Regions from separate parts of the Homo sapiens genome. Here region 2 is linked to region 1. Evidence: promoter capture Hi-C in human tissues and cell types (Jung and others, 2019). All regions are on one chromosome and are shown on one strand. The core of a region is centred on a gene start or on the middle of the fragment in contact, and the rest is flanking DNA. Distances in the headings are between cores, read along the strand shown.

What was found. The method cuts DNA at HindIII sites, captures the fragments that hold promoters and counts their contacts. A contact is called where the count stands out against the background at its distance.
Region 2: a fragment that was not itself captured here is called in contact with the fragment with the promoter of NKAIN3 in region 1 in 2 of the 25 tissues and cell types used here (stomach and thymus).

What each region holds. Positions count from the first base shown.
Region 1 is chr8:62,245,506-62,252,795 of GRCh38, forward strand. NKAIN3 (sodium/potassium transporting ATPase interacting 3) reads left to right here and starts at 3,349. Exons shown (of 7, transcript NM_001304533.3): 1 at 3,349-3,622. The coding sequence starts at 3,569. It overlaps LOC124901952 (a long non-coding RNA gene), which reads right to left. Exons shown (of 2, transcript XR_007060932.1): 1 at 3,952-7,290. The HindIII fragment of the contact is 6,824 bases long and covers 1-4,963 here.
Region 2 is chr8:62,289,200-62,296,489 of GRCh38, forward strand. All of the region lies in intron 1 of NKAIN3 (sodium/potassium transporting ATPase interacting 3), which reads left to right. Among named protein-coding and RNA genes, the nearest start is that of NKAIN3, 44 kb to the left of the region's middle. The HindIII fragment of the contact is 3,126 bases long and covers 2,355-5,480 here.

The DNA of each region.
Region 1 (7,290 bases), core at 2,099-4,598:
ACTGGGGAAACAGCTTTGTATTTGAGTTGGGGAGACAGGAAATCATACAGTAAGCAAACAATCAGTTTGAAGAAAAATAGAGTGACTGGAGTATTATTTTAGAAGGCCTGTTAAGTAAAGGCCTCCATGGGATGTGACATGAGGCTGAGACCTGCATAAGCCAAGGCTGTAAACTCCACAGAGACAGGCAAGGGGCAAATGCTAAGGCTTAGCCCTCTGGGGCAAGTCATTTTTATCACACCCACTTTATGTATGGGGAAAACAGGGCTCACAGGGGAGCAAAATGGCTTCTCTGAGATTCTATGGCCAAGAAGCAGCATGAACAGCCATATAGCTGATGGGCTGTTCTACTTAGATTATTTCCTCTCCAGTTGGTTTTACCCAACTCCTGTCCAGGCCGCATCCTTTCCATTGCTCTGTCATTTTTTAGTCTCATTTCCTCTCCCCAAGAGACTGGTAATTCCTCTTTTAAACCTTCTCTAACTCTCATAGGAAGAAAACTTAATGACAGCAGTCGGCACTAACCTCTTTCAGAGGGAGTGCTACTTTATGCCTGCATCTGCTCTCCCTTCCCACCTGTAAGTCCTTGAGGGGAAGAGAGGGAGTGGTATCATTTACCTTTGCAGAGTAGGCAACTAGCACAGCCCTTTGCATAGAAGCAATTAAGAAGTGAACTTGTAAGAAGTATTTGAGGGAAGGATGGAGAAAAGAAGGAAAAAAAGGAAGGGAGAAAGATTTTTAGTTCTGGATGTAATACAATTTAGAAAATGAGAATAAGAGATTGCAGAGAAAAATGAAGGTAGCTTCACACAATTTCTAGACTTCTTATTAGCATTGTGTTATCTTTGTTTCTTATTTAAATGCATTTAGTACAAATGCATTTTTCAACATCTTAAATTACACAAGGAAGAAACTCCAATTTGAGGCTATCAGTAAAGGCAGCAATGGGAAAGGGAGAGGTACAAGGGACCCTCCTGGTCTCCTAAAATCATACCACATGGGTGGTACTAACTCTGAATGTTAGATCAATGTACATTATTACACCTGCTTATGAGGGAACAGTTAGCTTCCCTGTGGGTAACTGCTATTTGTGTCCCAAGTTTCAGAGGCAGCACAGGGAATATGTAAATCCAGGAGCTCTAGAGTCAAATTCCCTGGCTTTGTATTCCTCTTCCTGGTTTAGCAGCCAGGGGAGCCTCTCCTCCTGTTTCCCTATCTTTTCAGTGATGATGCTCACAGCACCCACCCCAATGAGGTTGCAGTGATGATTAAATGAGTGAACACACATAAAGTACTTAGATGGGTGTATGGCACCTGGCAAGGACCCAGTGCAAGTTAGCTGCTAATATGGTACTTCCTAAATAAATAAAATCATGACAAAGTATACTGGGGTAAACATATGTAATTTGGAGAGAAGGAAGTGTCAGTATTTTTATTACCATCATTCATCACAGTCTCTGGAGATGAAAAGGTTACAACAATTTCTGGAAGTTATAGATAGAAGACTTGTTCATGTCCTCTCACTTTTCAGCTGCTTCCTACAGCTTTTAGAGGGGTCAATGGCCTGAGATGTTCTGCAATGTCCTTTTCTACATGCTAAACTACTTATTTGTCAGTGTTCATTTTTTTCTATTGTTTTCATCCATAAAGAATGATGACGAGTACGTGGATTGTGCATAAAGGCAGCGTGCTCACATGATCCTTGATCACTGATGTCTTAACGCTTGAATTAAAAAAGGAGGAGGAGTTCTGACTGGACTTCTCCTGTCTCCATGATAATATCAGAGGTGGAATGTAAACAATGAATGTTCTTGACCCTTTTAATAACCCAAATCCTGAGGTTATTCATGTGTCCCTACTAGAATTTCAAAGATGTGCAGACTTCCTTGGGAATGATAACCGTCTTAAATTATAAACATAGATCCTGAAGAAACGTTTCAGAAAGGATAAAAATAAAAACAGGACTGCTTTTAACGCCTGAACTAACGGCTTGAGCAGTTTCCATGTCTGGAGTGGAAGTATTAAAAACGCAAAGATGTCTTGCCTTTTCTTACCAACCTACCGCCAAGAACCCAGGAGGGCAGCAGTGGGCTAGAAACAGGGTTTCTGTGCCAAATTCTGAAAACAGCCTTTTCTGAGATAATTGGCCTGCAGGCTTGTTCCCTGTTCTGGTGTGCTTTTGAGCTCCTTGCGCAGTTCCACCAGGTACAACAAATGCGCCCATAAAATCTGTCTTTGAGCCCTGATGAAATTTCATCCTCTGCAGAACGCCTCCGCTCTGTTTTATTAGGTGGGAGAGAGCAGGAGAGTTTCCACAGGATTCAGAGAGAGTTTGTCCGTATCTTAACTATCCGAGATCTTCTTTCCAAATCCTTCTCAATTTATTTCTGTGAAGATATATTTATACCTATTCCGGAAACCTTCTCCATTTCTAGAAAAAGCTACGCATCTTCTTCTTCCTCGACTTCTCTTTTCTCCCTCCCGGTGAGGATTTCAAAGGGTATGTGAGAAAAGAACCTTAAGCCAGGTCTCCCCGCGGCGTCCTGGCTAGTCCCGGCGCCCTGGGCGGGTGCATCGCTCCGCCGCAGCGCCCCTTGCCACCCAACTCTGTCCAACTTTCCCTTTCAGACTCCAGCAGGGGCGCCCTCCAGGCAACCGGCTGTGGCGGGCAGAAGCAAGCTCGGATGGGAGACCCCCGAGCTGCGTGCCCAGCGCCGGCTCAACAGACTTGCCCGCGCAGCGCCCGCGGGCCCCCTCGCATCCGGGCAGGTTCCGGAGCTGGGCCTTGCGCTCCCCGGCGCCCGCCCACCCTGGGTGTCTCGCGTCCCGGCCCTTCCTCCCCGGAACCCAAGCTAACCCAACTCCCATCCTCGCCACCTCTGGGGCAGCTCAACTAAGCCGTGTCCCCTCCCTTGCAAACGCGTCCGACCACCCTCCCAACCCCCAGCACAACCCTCAGCAAGAAAGCCCAGCTGGGTCTACCCAGTTACACCGGTCAACGAGGGTCTCCATCGCCGCCGGCCGCCCTAATTCACGCTCATTCATATTCATTCTCTTTTCTCTCTGTCCCTCTTCCTTTCTCCCCAAAGACTCTTAACTAGACAGGCCGATCCTCCCCAGCGGCACTCCCTTTCATTCTTCCCTTCCCACCACACACACACACACACACACACACCCGGACCCAGACAGCCCACTCCACTTTCCAGACGCCCACCTCCTACATACTCCCCTCCCCTAAACAGACATTCACCCACTCGCCATCTGTAGCCTCCTTCCAACCCCCCGCCCCGCCCGCCTGGCTCCCCCTCCCCAAGAAACAGACCTGCACAGTGGGACGCAGGGACCCCCGCCAGACGCTCGGGTCGTGCGCACCGCACTGACCTCGGCCCGCCCCGCCGGGAAACTAACAAAGGCGGGCGCGAGCCCCGAGCCCTGGAGCCGCGAGCGGCGGCCGCGGGGCCGAGGAGCCTGGGCCGGGCCGGGCGGGGACTACTCCGGAGTCAGGAGGCAGCAGCGGCGGAGGACGAGGATCTCTGGCAGTCAGCGCCGCTCGGACGCCGCCGGCACCATGGGCTGCTGCACCGGACGCTGCTCGCTCATCTGCCTCTGCGCGCTGCAGTTGGTGAGTGCCCCGAGGGCCCCTGCCCCAGGACAGGTCCCTGCTCCAGGACCGGCCTCTGCGACTCCCTCTGCGGTTCCGCAGCTCCCGGCAAGGGGCGAACGGGTGAACAGGGCGCTCCGCCCGCCTCCCACCCTCCCCACCGCCTGGCTGGGCTCGCACTGCTCTCCAGCCGCGGGCACTCGCCAGGTCGCCCCTGCCCTGCAGGAGGGCGCGGTCTCACCCCCGGTCCCATGCGCTGGGGTTCGCCGCGCTCCCGCCGGGCGTCGCCACGCGGTCCAGGGGCCAGGAGCCGGCGGAGTGAGGGATTTTCCCGCCCCTTGATCCGATACCTGGTTTAGCACCCTCCGCGTTCGTGCTGAAGTTACACGGGGACTTGCGGGCTCTTTCTTCTTAGGATGATTTCCAGGAATGTTGCTTAATTACACTGTGTGGGAATGCCCAGGTTCTGAGGAGACAGAAGCTGCCTCAACTCTGTTAGTGAAGAGTGAGGTGGTTCTAACCTTAAGCAGGTTGAAAAGTGATGGTTAAGGAGTCTGGGACCTCCAGGAAGGAGATCAGGCTGTGTGCTTCAGCCCCTGCCCTTCCAGTTCCGCTTTGGATTTTGTTGAAATGTTGCATGTTCAGGCGGCGACAGACTGACAGCTGTCATCAAGGAGAGAACAGAGTGAACCGGCTCCATTGGCGCGGTGCCTTGCAGAGGGAGTGTGTGTAATGGGAAGTTAGAAACTAGAGTGGGGAAAAAAGGCCCTTTCAGAGCAGAGCAAATGCTCCTCTTAATCCCTTTGGATCCTGGACTGGCTCTGTGGTCTATTCCATGGTCACTTGAGGTCAAGGCCACAGACCTTTTGAGTCAGACTTTTGTGTGTGAGAGATTAATAGACATCTCCCTTGCGTTATACTTCAGACAGATTCTGAGTGCTCTGCCAAGCTTTCTTCCAAGCATTGTATTTTTTTTCGAGTCACAAATATAAACTAGTATATTTTGACAAGTGAGAGGAAAAAGCTTGCAATGAACTTTACTTAGTAATGTCATCCCTTGCAAGACTTATTAACTGAGGGATAAAATCGTGCTTTTTAGTAGTTAGTCCTTGTTTACATGAAGGCTTTAGAATGTTTTCACTTTTCTCTTGCCTCAGTGTTCCAGTCTCCCATGAAAACCTCACTTTGGATGTGCCCTTCATTGTTCACATAATGCATGCATAATTTATGTATTCGTAGGTTTGAAATCAGTGACTTTTTAAGCCTATTGGATAGTGCCTTCTGTCTTGTGAAATACTTGAATCAAACATATTTTATAGTTTCTTGAAAAAAATTTTAAAAATTTAAAACAATATGAATGTTTTCTTTCACTAAGAAAAGAAGGCAGGAGCTTGATTTGTATTTTGGTTTTCAGAAATGGACATGGCTTATAAGTTGGAAAAACTGACTAAACATTGAGTCAACCCTTGATTCAATGTAAGATTATAGATAGGCATGCTGGATTGCATAATCTATAATGCCTAATTTCTATTTTACATGGAAATAACAAGTAAGGTTTTTATGTAGCAGATTTATCAATGCAATTATGATTTTCTTAACAGGCATTGTGATGATAATGTTTTTGAGATTTCATCCATCAGCCAAGCATGCCCCTTCTTTCCACTTTCTTAGTTGATACAAATGCAACTTATTTGTCAAAGCTTATCTTAAAATTCCATTTTTTAATGAAGTCTTCCTTGGTGCTCCAGGTAAAATCCCTTATATTCCTATAATCTCATAGCACTTCGCTTTTTCCTCTGTTATAAAACATTTGATACACTCTTAAATAATTTTAAGTTATTTACACATATTTCTCACCACTAGATTGTAAGCAACTTGAGGGTAGGGACCATAGTACTAGTGATCTTTACAAACTCTGCAAGTTCTTAGAGCTCATATTAGGAGCTGAAACATATTTGCTGAATTTTTGATAATACATAACATTTGCAATCCATACAGGACTTTGACATAAACATTTCTTTTGACTTTTAAAACTATCCTGTGAGGTAGATACTCATTTCATTTGTTTGCAGGTGAGGAAGTTGATATTCATAAACAGTTTTTCCATAATCAAGAGTTTTTGGATGGTAGAAATATTGGGGTGATGGTAAGCATTTAACAACTGGATTGTAAACAAAACAAATGTATATATTACATTATAATAGCATACAAGATAATCTTCTCTATGTAAAAGATGTGTAGCTCTCTGTTGACAAATGATAGCAATAGTAAAATATGTAATAGTCTTTAGTGTGAATTCCATACAGCCATTCAATTTTGGCAGAATCTTTTTGCTGAGTTTGAAAAACTCTTGGTTTTATAAATCTGACATGAATGCTGGTGAATATTTTTGTATGCTTTAAGAAAAAAGAGGAAAGTGAAAATTTGAAGAAAATATTCGAACTTTACTTCATCAATTACATGAAAAGATTCTTGGCTGAATTGGATAATAGTTTTTAAATACTTAAAAATTATTTCCTCAGTTTCTTTCATAGCTATTGACAATGTAATGTCTATAGACATGACACACTTTTAGGTTTAATATGCATTATTTAAAATATTTCTCCATTATTTAAAAAGCCTAGACAATCAACAAAACAGTAAGCAACCGCTGATTTGTGGGGTTTGCCAAATTCTTTGGTGTAAATACTCCCATCACGACCAATTTCAAGTATACTTTATATAGCATTTCCGTCATATACATAAGATAGGCCTAACCTCAAAAGCATTGGTAAAGTAAAACACAGCAAAATAATTAGGAAGGAATAACTGTTAACTATTCAGTACCTTGGTTTTTAGTAGGATTTCTTTAAATTTAAGTTTGCATAATTTAATTTTTAATAATGGCTGTATTTAACAACTGGCTCACAAAATTCCTAAAAATCTAACAAAACCAATTCTAACTCTGAGCCCGTATAAGCCTGCTTCAGCATATCATAGGATAGGGATCCCTGTTTCCTAGATCTGGTGCACTTTCTACTGAAACCAACTGTTTTTTTTTTGCTCTTTTATGTTTTTTTCTGCTTCCACCAACTGTCAGACAATGGAGATTATGAGGCAGTGAACTAGTGAGGGTGTTGAAAGGGGATGGCGTTGGGAGAACACATCTGCTGAAGACAATCTACATGCTCATGACTAAGGCTTAACTGGGAGGTCATCACATAGATGATACATTAGTTCCTCCTAAAAGTTAAAGAAACAAATAAAAGCTTTTCGTTATCTTATTCCCATTTTGTCTGAACTACTGTCTGGAGTGGGAAAATAAAAACTCAAATTGGGAAATTTACTTGGAGAAAACATATCCTTTTCAAGCTAGTATCTGTGGATGAGTTTCGGTTTGCAAAATCTCAGTCATTTTCTACTTTTTTCACTCCACTGCTCTGGCTGTCTTTCATCATTAGTTTTTCTCCAGGCTTCTGCCCTCAAGATGTTTGCCTCATGGTTTTCATTTGTGATCCTCCTGATTTTCCTAGATGAAATTAAAGAGAAAGTGAAAAGTATGAATACAGGCCCATCAAAAACGATGTGAAATAATTTTTTTTAAAGAAGTGATTCATTACTGTGTCACTGATTCATCTAGTCATCCAAGAGCCTTTAGTACATTTTTTTTGTAAGGATACTTTCAGTTTTGCTTGTTTTATAATACTGTA
Region 2 (7,290 bases), core at 2,668-5,167, 44 kb after region 1:
CACTCTGATGGTAGTTTCTTTTGCTGTGCAGAAGCTCTTTAGTTTAAGTAGATCCCATTTGTCAATTTTGGCTTTTGTTGCCTTTGCTTTTGGTGTTTTAGTCATGAAGTCCTTGCCCATGCCTATGTCCTGAATGGTATTGCCTAGGTTTTCTTCTAGGGTTTTTCTGGTTTTAGGTCTAACATTTAAGTCTTTAATCCATCTTGAATTAATTGTTGTATAAGATATAAGGAAGGGATCCAGTTTCAGCTTTCTACATATGGCTAGCCAGTTTTCCCAGCACCATTTATTAAATAGGGAATCCTTTACCCATTTCTTGTTTTTGTCAGGTTTGTCAAAGATCAAATGGGTGCAGATGTGTGGTATTATTTCTGGGGGCTCTATTCTATTCTATTGGTCTATATCTCTGTTTTGGTACTGGTACCATGCTGTTTTGGTTACTGTAGGCTTGTAGTATAGTTTGAAGTCAGGTAGGGTGATGCCTCCAGCTTTGTTCTTTTGGCTTAGGATTGTCTTGGCAATGTGGGCTATTTTTGGTTTCATATGAACTTTAAAGTAGTTTTTTCCAGTTCCATGAAGAAAGTCATTGGTAGCTTGATGGGGATGGCATTGAATCTATAAATTACCTTGGGCAGTATGGCCATTTTCACAATATTGATTCTTCCTATCCTTGAGCATGGAATGTTCTTCCATTTGTTTGTGTCTTCTTTTATTTCGTTGAGCAGTGGTTTATAGTTCCCCTTGAAGAGGTCCTTCACATCCCTTGTAAGTTGGATTCCTAGGTATTTTATTCTCTTTGAAGTGATTGTGAATGGGAGTTCACTCATGATTTGGCTCTCTGTTTGTCTGTTATTGGTGTATAGGAATGCTTGTGATTTTTGCACATTGATTTTGTATCCTGAGACTTTGCTGAAGTTGCTTATCAGCTTAAGGAGATTTTGGGCTGAGACGATGGGGTTTTCTAAATATACAATCATGTCATCTGCAAGCAGGGACAATTTGACTTCCTCTTTTCCTAATTGCATATCCTTTATTTCTTTCTCTTGCCTGATTTCCCTGGCCAGAACTTCCAACATTATGTTGAATTGGAGTGGTGAGAGAGGGCATCCCTGTCTTGTGCCAGTTTTCAAAGGGAATGCTTCCAGTTTTTGCCCATTCAGTATGATATTGGCTGTGGGTTTGTCATAAATAGCTCCTATTATTTTGAGATACGTCCCAGCGATACCTGATTTATTGGTAGTTTTTAGCATGAAGGGCTATTGAATTTTGTCAAAGGCCTTTTCTGCATCTATTGAGATAATCATGTTTTTGTCTTTGGTTCTGTTTATATGCTGGATTACGTTTATTGATTTGCATATGTTGAACCAGCCTTGCATCCCAGGGATGAGACCAACTTGCTCATGGTGGATAAGCTTTTTGATGTGCTGCTGGATTCAGTTTGCCAGTATTTTATTAAGGATTTTTGCATCAATGTTCATCAGGGATATTGGTCTAAAATTCTCTTTTTTTGTGTGTCTCTGTCAGGCTTTGGTATCAGGATGATATTGGCCTCGTAAAATGAATTAGGGATGATTCTGCTTTTTCTATTGATTGGAATAATTTCAGAAAGAATGGTACCAGCTCCTCTTTGTACCTCTGGTAGAATTCAGCTGTGAATCCATCTGGTCCTGGACTTTTTTTGGTTGGTAGGCTATTCATTATTGCCTCAATTTCAGAACCTGGTATGGGTCTATTCAGGGATTCCACTTCTTCCTGGTTTAGTCTTCGGAGGGTGTATGTGCCCAGGAATTTATCAACTTCTTCTAGATTTTCTAGTTTATTTGAATAGAGGTGTTTGTAGTATTCTGTGATGGTAGTTTGTATTTCTGTGGGATCAGTGGTGATATCCCCCTTATCATTTTTTATTGCATCTATTTGATTCTTCTCTCTTTTCTTCTTTATTAGTCTTGCTAGCAGTCCATCAATTTTGTTGATCTTTTCAAAAAACCAGCTCCTGGATTCATGGATTTTTCGAAGGGTTTTTGTGTCTCTATCTCCTTCAATTCTGCTCTGATCTTAGTTATTTCTTGACTTCTGCTAGCTTTTGAATGTGTTTGCTCTTGCTTCTCTAGTTCTTTCAATTGTGATGTTAGGGTGTCAATTTTACATCTTTCCTGCTTTCTCATGTGGGCATTTAGTGCTATAAATTTCCCTCTATAGACTGCTTTGAATGTGTCCCAGAGTTTCTGGTATGTTGTGTCTTTGTTTTCATTGGTTTCAAAGAACATCTTTATTTCTGGCTTCATTTTGTTATGCACCCAGTAGTCATGCAGGAGCAGGTTGTTCAGTTTCCATGTAGTTTAGATGTTTTGAGTGAATTTCTTAAGTCTGAGTTCTAGTTGATTGCACTGTGGTCTGAGAGACAGTTTGTTATAATTTCTGTTCTTTTACATTTGCTGAGGAGTGCTTTACTTCGAACTATGTGGTCAATTTTGGAATAAGTGCAGTGTGGTGCTGAGAAGAATGTATATTCTGTTGATTTGGGGTGGAGAGTTCTGTAGATGTCTATTAGGTCTGCATGGTGCAGAGCTGAGTTCAATTCCTGGATATCTTTTTTACATTCTGTCTCGTTGATCTGTCTAATGTTGACCGTGGGATGTGAAAGTCTCCCATTATTATTGTGTGGGAGTCTGTGTCTCTTTGTAGGTCTCCAAGGACCTGCTTTATGAATCTGGGTGCTCCTGTATTGGGTGCATATATATTTAGGATAGTTATCTCTTCTTGTTGAATTGATCCCTTTACCATTATGTAATTGCCTTCTTTGTCTCTTTTGATCTTTGTTGGTTTAAAGTCTGTTTTATCAGAGACTAGGATTACAACCCCTGCTTTTTTTTTGTTTTCCATTTGCTTGGTAGATCTTCCTCCATCCCTTTATTTTGAGCCTACATGTATCTCTGCATGTGAGATGGGTCTCCTGAATGCAGCACACTGATGGGTCTTGACTCTATCCAATTTGCCAGTCTGTGTCTTTTAATTGGAGCATTAAGCCCATTTACATTTAAGTTTAATATTGTTATGTGTGAATTTGATCCTGTCATTATGATGTTAGCTGGTTATTTTGCTTGTTAGTTGATGTGGTTTCTTCCTAGCCTCGATGGTCTTTACAATTTTGCATGTTTTTGCAGTGGCTGGTACCAGTTGTTCCTTTCCATGTTTATTGCTTCCTTGAGGAGCTCTTGTAAGGCAGGCCTGATGGTGACAAAATCTCTCAGCTTTTGTTTGTCTGTAAAGGATTTTATTTCTCCTTCACTTATGAAGCTTAGTTTGGCTGGATATGAAATTCTGGGTTGAAAATTCTTTTCTTTAAGAATGTTGAATATTGGCCCCTAATCTCTTCTGGCTTGTAGAGTTTCTGCTGAGAGATCCACCGTTAGTCTGATGGGCTTCCCTTTGTGGGTAACTCAACCTTTCTCTCTGGCTGCTCTTAACAATTTTTTCCTTCATTTCAACTTTGGTGAATCTGACAATTATGTGTCTTGGAGTTGCTCTTCTTGAATATCTTTGTGGTGTTCTCTGTATTTCCTGAATTTGAATGTTGGCCTGCCTCACTAGGTTGGGGAAGTTGTGGATAATATCCTGAAGAGTGTTTTCCAACTTGGTTCCATTCTCCCCATCACTTTCAGGCACAGCAATCAGACGTAGATTTGGTCTTTTCACATAGTCCCATATTTCTTGGAGGCTTTGTTTGTTTCTTTTTACTCTTTTTTTTTAAACTTGTCTTCTCACTTCATTTCATTCATTTGATCTTCGGTCATTGATACCCTTTCTTCCACTTGATCAAATTGGCTACTGAAGCTTGTGCATGCATCGTGTAGTTCTGATGCCATGGTTTTCAGCTCCATCAGGTCATTTAAGGACTTCTCTACACTGTTTATTCTAGTTAGCTATTCGTCTAATCTTTTTTCAAGGTTTTTAGCTTCTTTTCGATGGGTTCGAATATCCTCCTTTTTCTCGGAGAAGTTTGTTATTACCAATTGTCTGAAGCCTTCTTCTCTCAACTTATCAGTCATTCTCCGTCCAGCTTTGTTCCGTTGCTGGCGAGGAGCTGCGTTCCTTTGGAGGAGAAGAGGCGCTCTGATTTTTAGAATTCTCAGCTTTTCTGCTATGGTTTCTCTCTGTCTTTGCTGTTTTATCTACCTTTGGTCTTTGATGATGGTGACATACAGATGGGGTTTTGGAGTGGATGCCCTTTCTGTTTGTTAGTTTTCCTTCTAACAGTCAGGACCGTCAGCTGCAGGTCTGTTGGAGTTTGCTGGAGGTCCATTCCAGACCCTGTTTGCCTGGGTATCACCAGCGGAGGCTGCAGAACAGCAAATATTGCAGAATGGCAAATGTTGCTGTCTGATCCTTCTTCTGGATGCTTCATCTCAGAGTGACACCCAGCTGTATGAGGTGTCAGTCAGCCCGTATTGGGAGGTGTCTCCCAGTTAGGCTACTCGGGGGTCAGGGACCCATTTCAGGAGGCAGTCTGTCTGTTCTCAGATCTCAAACTCCGTGCTTGGAGAAGCACTACTCTCTTCAAAGCTGTCAGACAGGGAAGTTTAAGTCTGCAGAAGTTTCTGCTGCCTTTTGTTCAGCTATGCCCTGCCCCCAGAGGTGGAGTCTACAGAGGCAGGCAGGCCTCCTTGAGCTGCAGTGGGCTCCACCCAGTTCGAGCTTCCAGGCTACTTTGTTTACTTACTCAAGCCTCAGCAATGGCAGACACCCCTCCCCCAGCCTCACTGCAGCCTTGCAGTTCCATCTCAGACTGCTGTGCTAGTAGTGAGCGAGGCTCTGTGAGGGTGGGACCCTTCGAGTCAGGCACGGGATGCAATCTCCTGGCATGCCGTTTGCTAAGGCCATTGGAAAAGAGCAGTATTAGGGTGGGAGTGTTCTGATTTTCCAGGTACCGTCTGTCACGGCTTCTCTTTGGTAGGAAGGAATTCTCTGACCCCTTGTGCTTCCTGGGTGAAGCGTTGCTCTGCCCTTCTCCATGGGCTGCACCCACTGTCTGACAAGCCCCAGTGAGATGAACCCAGTACCTCAGTTGGAAATGCAGAAATCACCCGTCTTCTGCATCACTTACGCTGGGAGCTGCAGACTGGAGCTGTTCCTATTCAGCCATCTTCAGCCTAGTTCCTTTCTGAGAGTAGGCACTCGAAAATATGTATTGACATGAATTGATTTGAAAAACTTTGATGGAGAGTATCTTTCCCTCATATTCAGTATTTTTTATTTGACTACACAAAAAGGATTATAATAAATAAAATTATAAACATTGAACACCCTGCTCCATAGAGATTTGCTAACAGATGTGTTCTTTTTACTCTTAAATACTCCTATTTTTTGAGACAGAGCCTTACTCTATCACCCAGATAGGTGTGCAGTGACAAGATCATGGTTCACTTTCAGACTCAACCTCCCAATTTCAGCTATTTTCCCACCTTAGCCTGGGGACCACAAGCACGTGTCACCATGCTGGTAAATTTTTGTATTTTAATTTTTTTGGTAGAGATGGGGTCTCCCTATGTTTCCCAGGCTGGTCTCCAACTGGTGGGCTCTAGCTATTCTCCCACCTCAGCCTCCCAAAGTACTGGGAATATAAGTGTGAGTCACTGCACCTGGCCTCCTGTCGAAATTGAGTCAAAGTAATTACCTACATAGTTCAAATTCTAGAGAGGACTCAACACTTCTATCCTTTCCAGAAACATACAAACACACATCTCTCAGGTCCTTTTGATATTCTGGGGCATGTTCCAGTGTTTGTGTCATGTTGTTGGGGTAACCTTTTACATGGATACTTGGATCATTTTTTCTTCTGTAAATCTATGTGGCACCTGTCCCTGAGACTTTGGAGGGTATAACAAATCAAGGAGTACTTTGAAAGGAGGCACAACCTTAAATAGAATAGTTTCTTTCTTTGGATTTGTTTTGGTGTACCTCATCTCATTACCAATGTGTCAGCCATTGCATACCAAATCAACATGTGGATATAAGGGAATGTGCCCTTGTCTGAGACAAGCAGATTATAGTAGACCTCTGGTTCATAGGAGGTTGTGGCAGTATAAGTGTTAGATTAGTTTCTGACTCTAATTTTTGTAAGGTTTCAGCTCTAGTGTCCAGCAAAAATGCCTCAGTGAAGCTGATAGGTGTGTCAGGCAAACATCCTAATGATATCAGACTCAGCGTGATTTCATGCAACAACTTGGAGTTTGGGTTACTCTGACCTCACATCATGGTTTGAATCCTGATTCACTGAGCAGCAGTGTGAACTAGAGCAAAATAACAATTGTTGAGCTTCAGTTTTGTAGTCTATAAAAATGGAAATAAATATTAATGTATTTTTGAGGCTTATTTATATATATGTAGTATAGCGGTTTCTATTTCACAGCTTTTTTGGGGGAATTCTCCAATTCTTGCATATAAAATAAGATCACTTTATCTAACAAAAAGAGAAAATCCTGTTTGTTGGATTCTATTAGCTCCCCTCTTCGGGTAGAAAATCTGCTAAACATAAAATAAAATTTCTCATAAGTGTTTTTTAATGTTCATTTAATGTCAACATTTAATTAATTAATTATATTTGTTTGTTTGTGTATTCAAGAATGTTTATTGAGAAGCTACTTTAGACCAGCAAATTCTATGTGCTGGGGATATAGCAATGAACAAGACAGACAAATCTGTGCCTTCATAAAATTACATTTCTAATAACCTCACACCTTAGTGTAAATGTTCTGCTTTAGCCAAGACCAACTTGCACATCAGCAAATAAAGCTAGTCCATATTTTTGTTTGACCTGTAAGACTGTATTGAGTTATTTCAAAAATCACTGCTGGCTTTGACTACAGCAAATGCCCCCTTAGTATTTGCTGTGATCTGTGTAATTCCACGTGGACCTAAAACTCTTTTTGTGTTTGGAGAAAAGAAGAGTTGTTAAGGAGACACAAGGATACAACAGGACTCCTTCATAGGGAAATTAAAGAAGTGGATCCTGGAATGTTTGCTGCTATTTCCTGCTGGGATATAGTTAAAGGTGAGGGAGAGTGAAAAGTAGGAGGAGGCTGAATAACTTTCTGAGGCAGTCATGAGAACCAGACTGCTGGAAAAAGCTTGACTAACTAAATTGAATGTGTTAGTGTAGACTCTCTGTAATCATTTCATCATGACCTACCACTAATTTGTGTGGGAGTTGAATGTGATAGGAACCTAAGATGCTATGCCAATAAACAGTTATAAGAAATTCTGTGTGCCTTATGTTTGAAAATCTTTGAA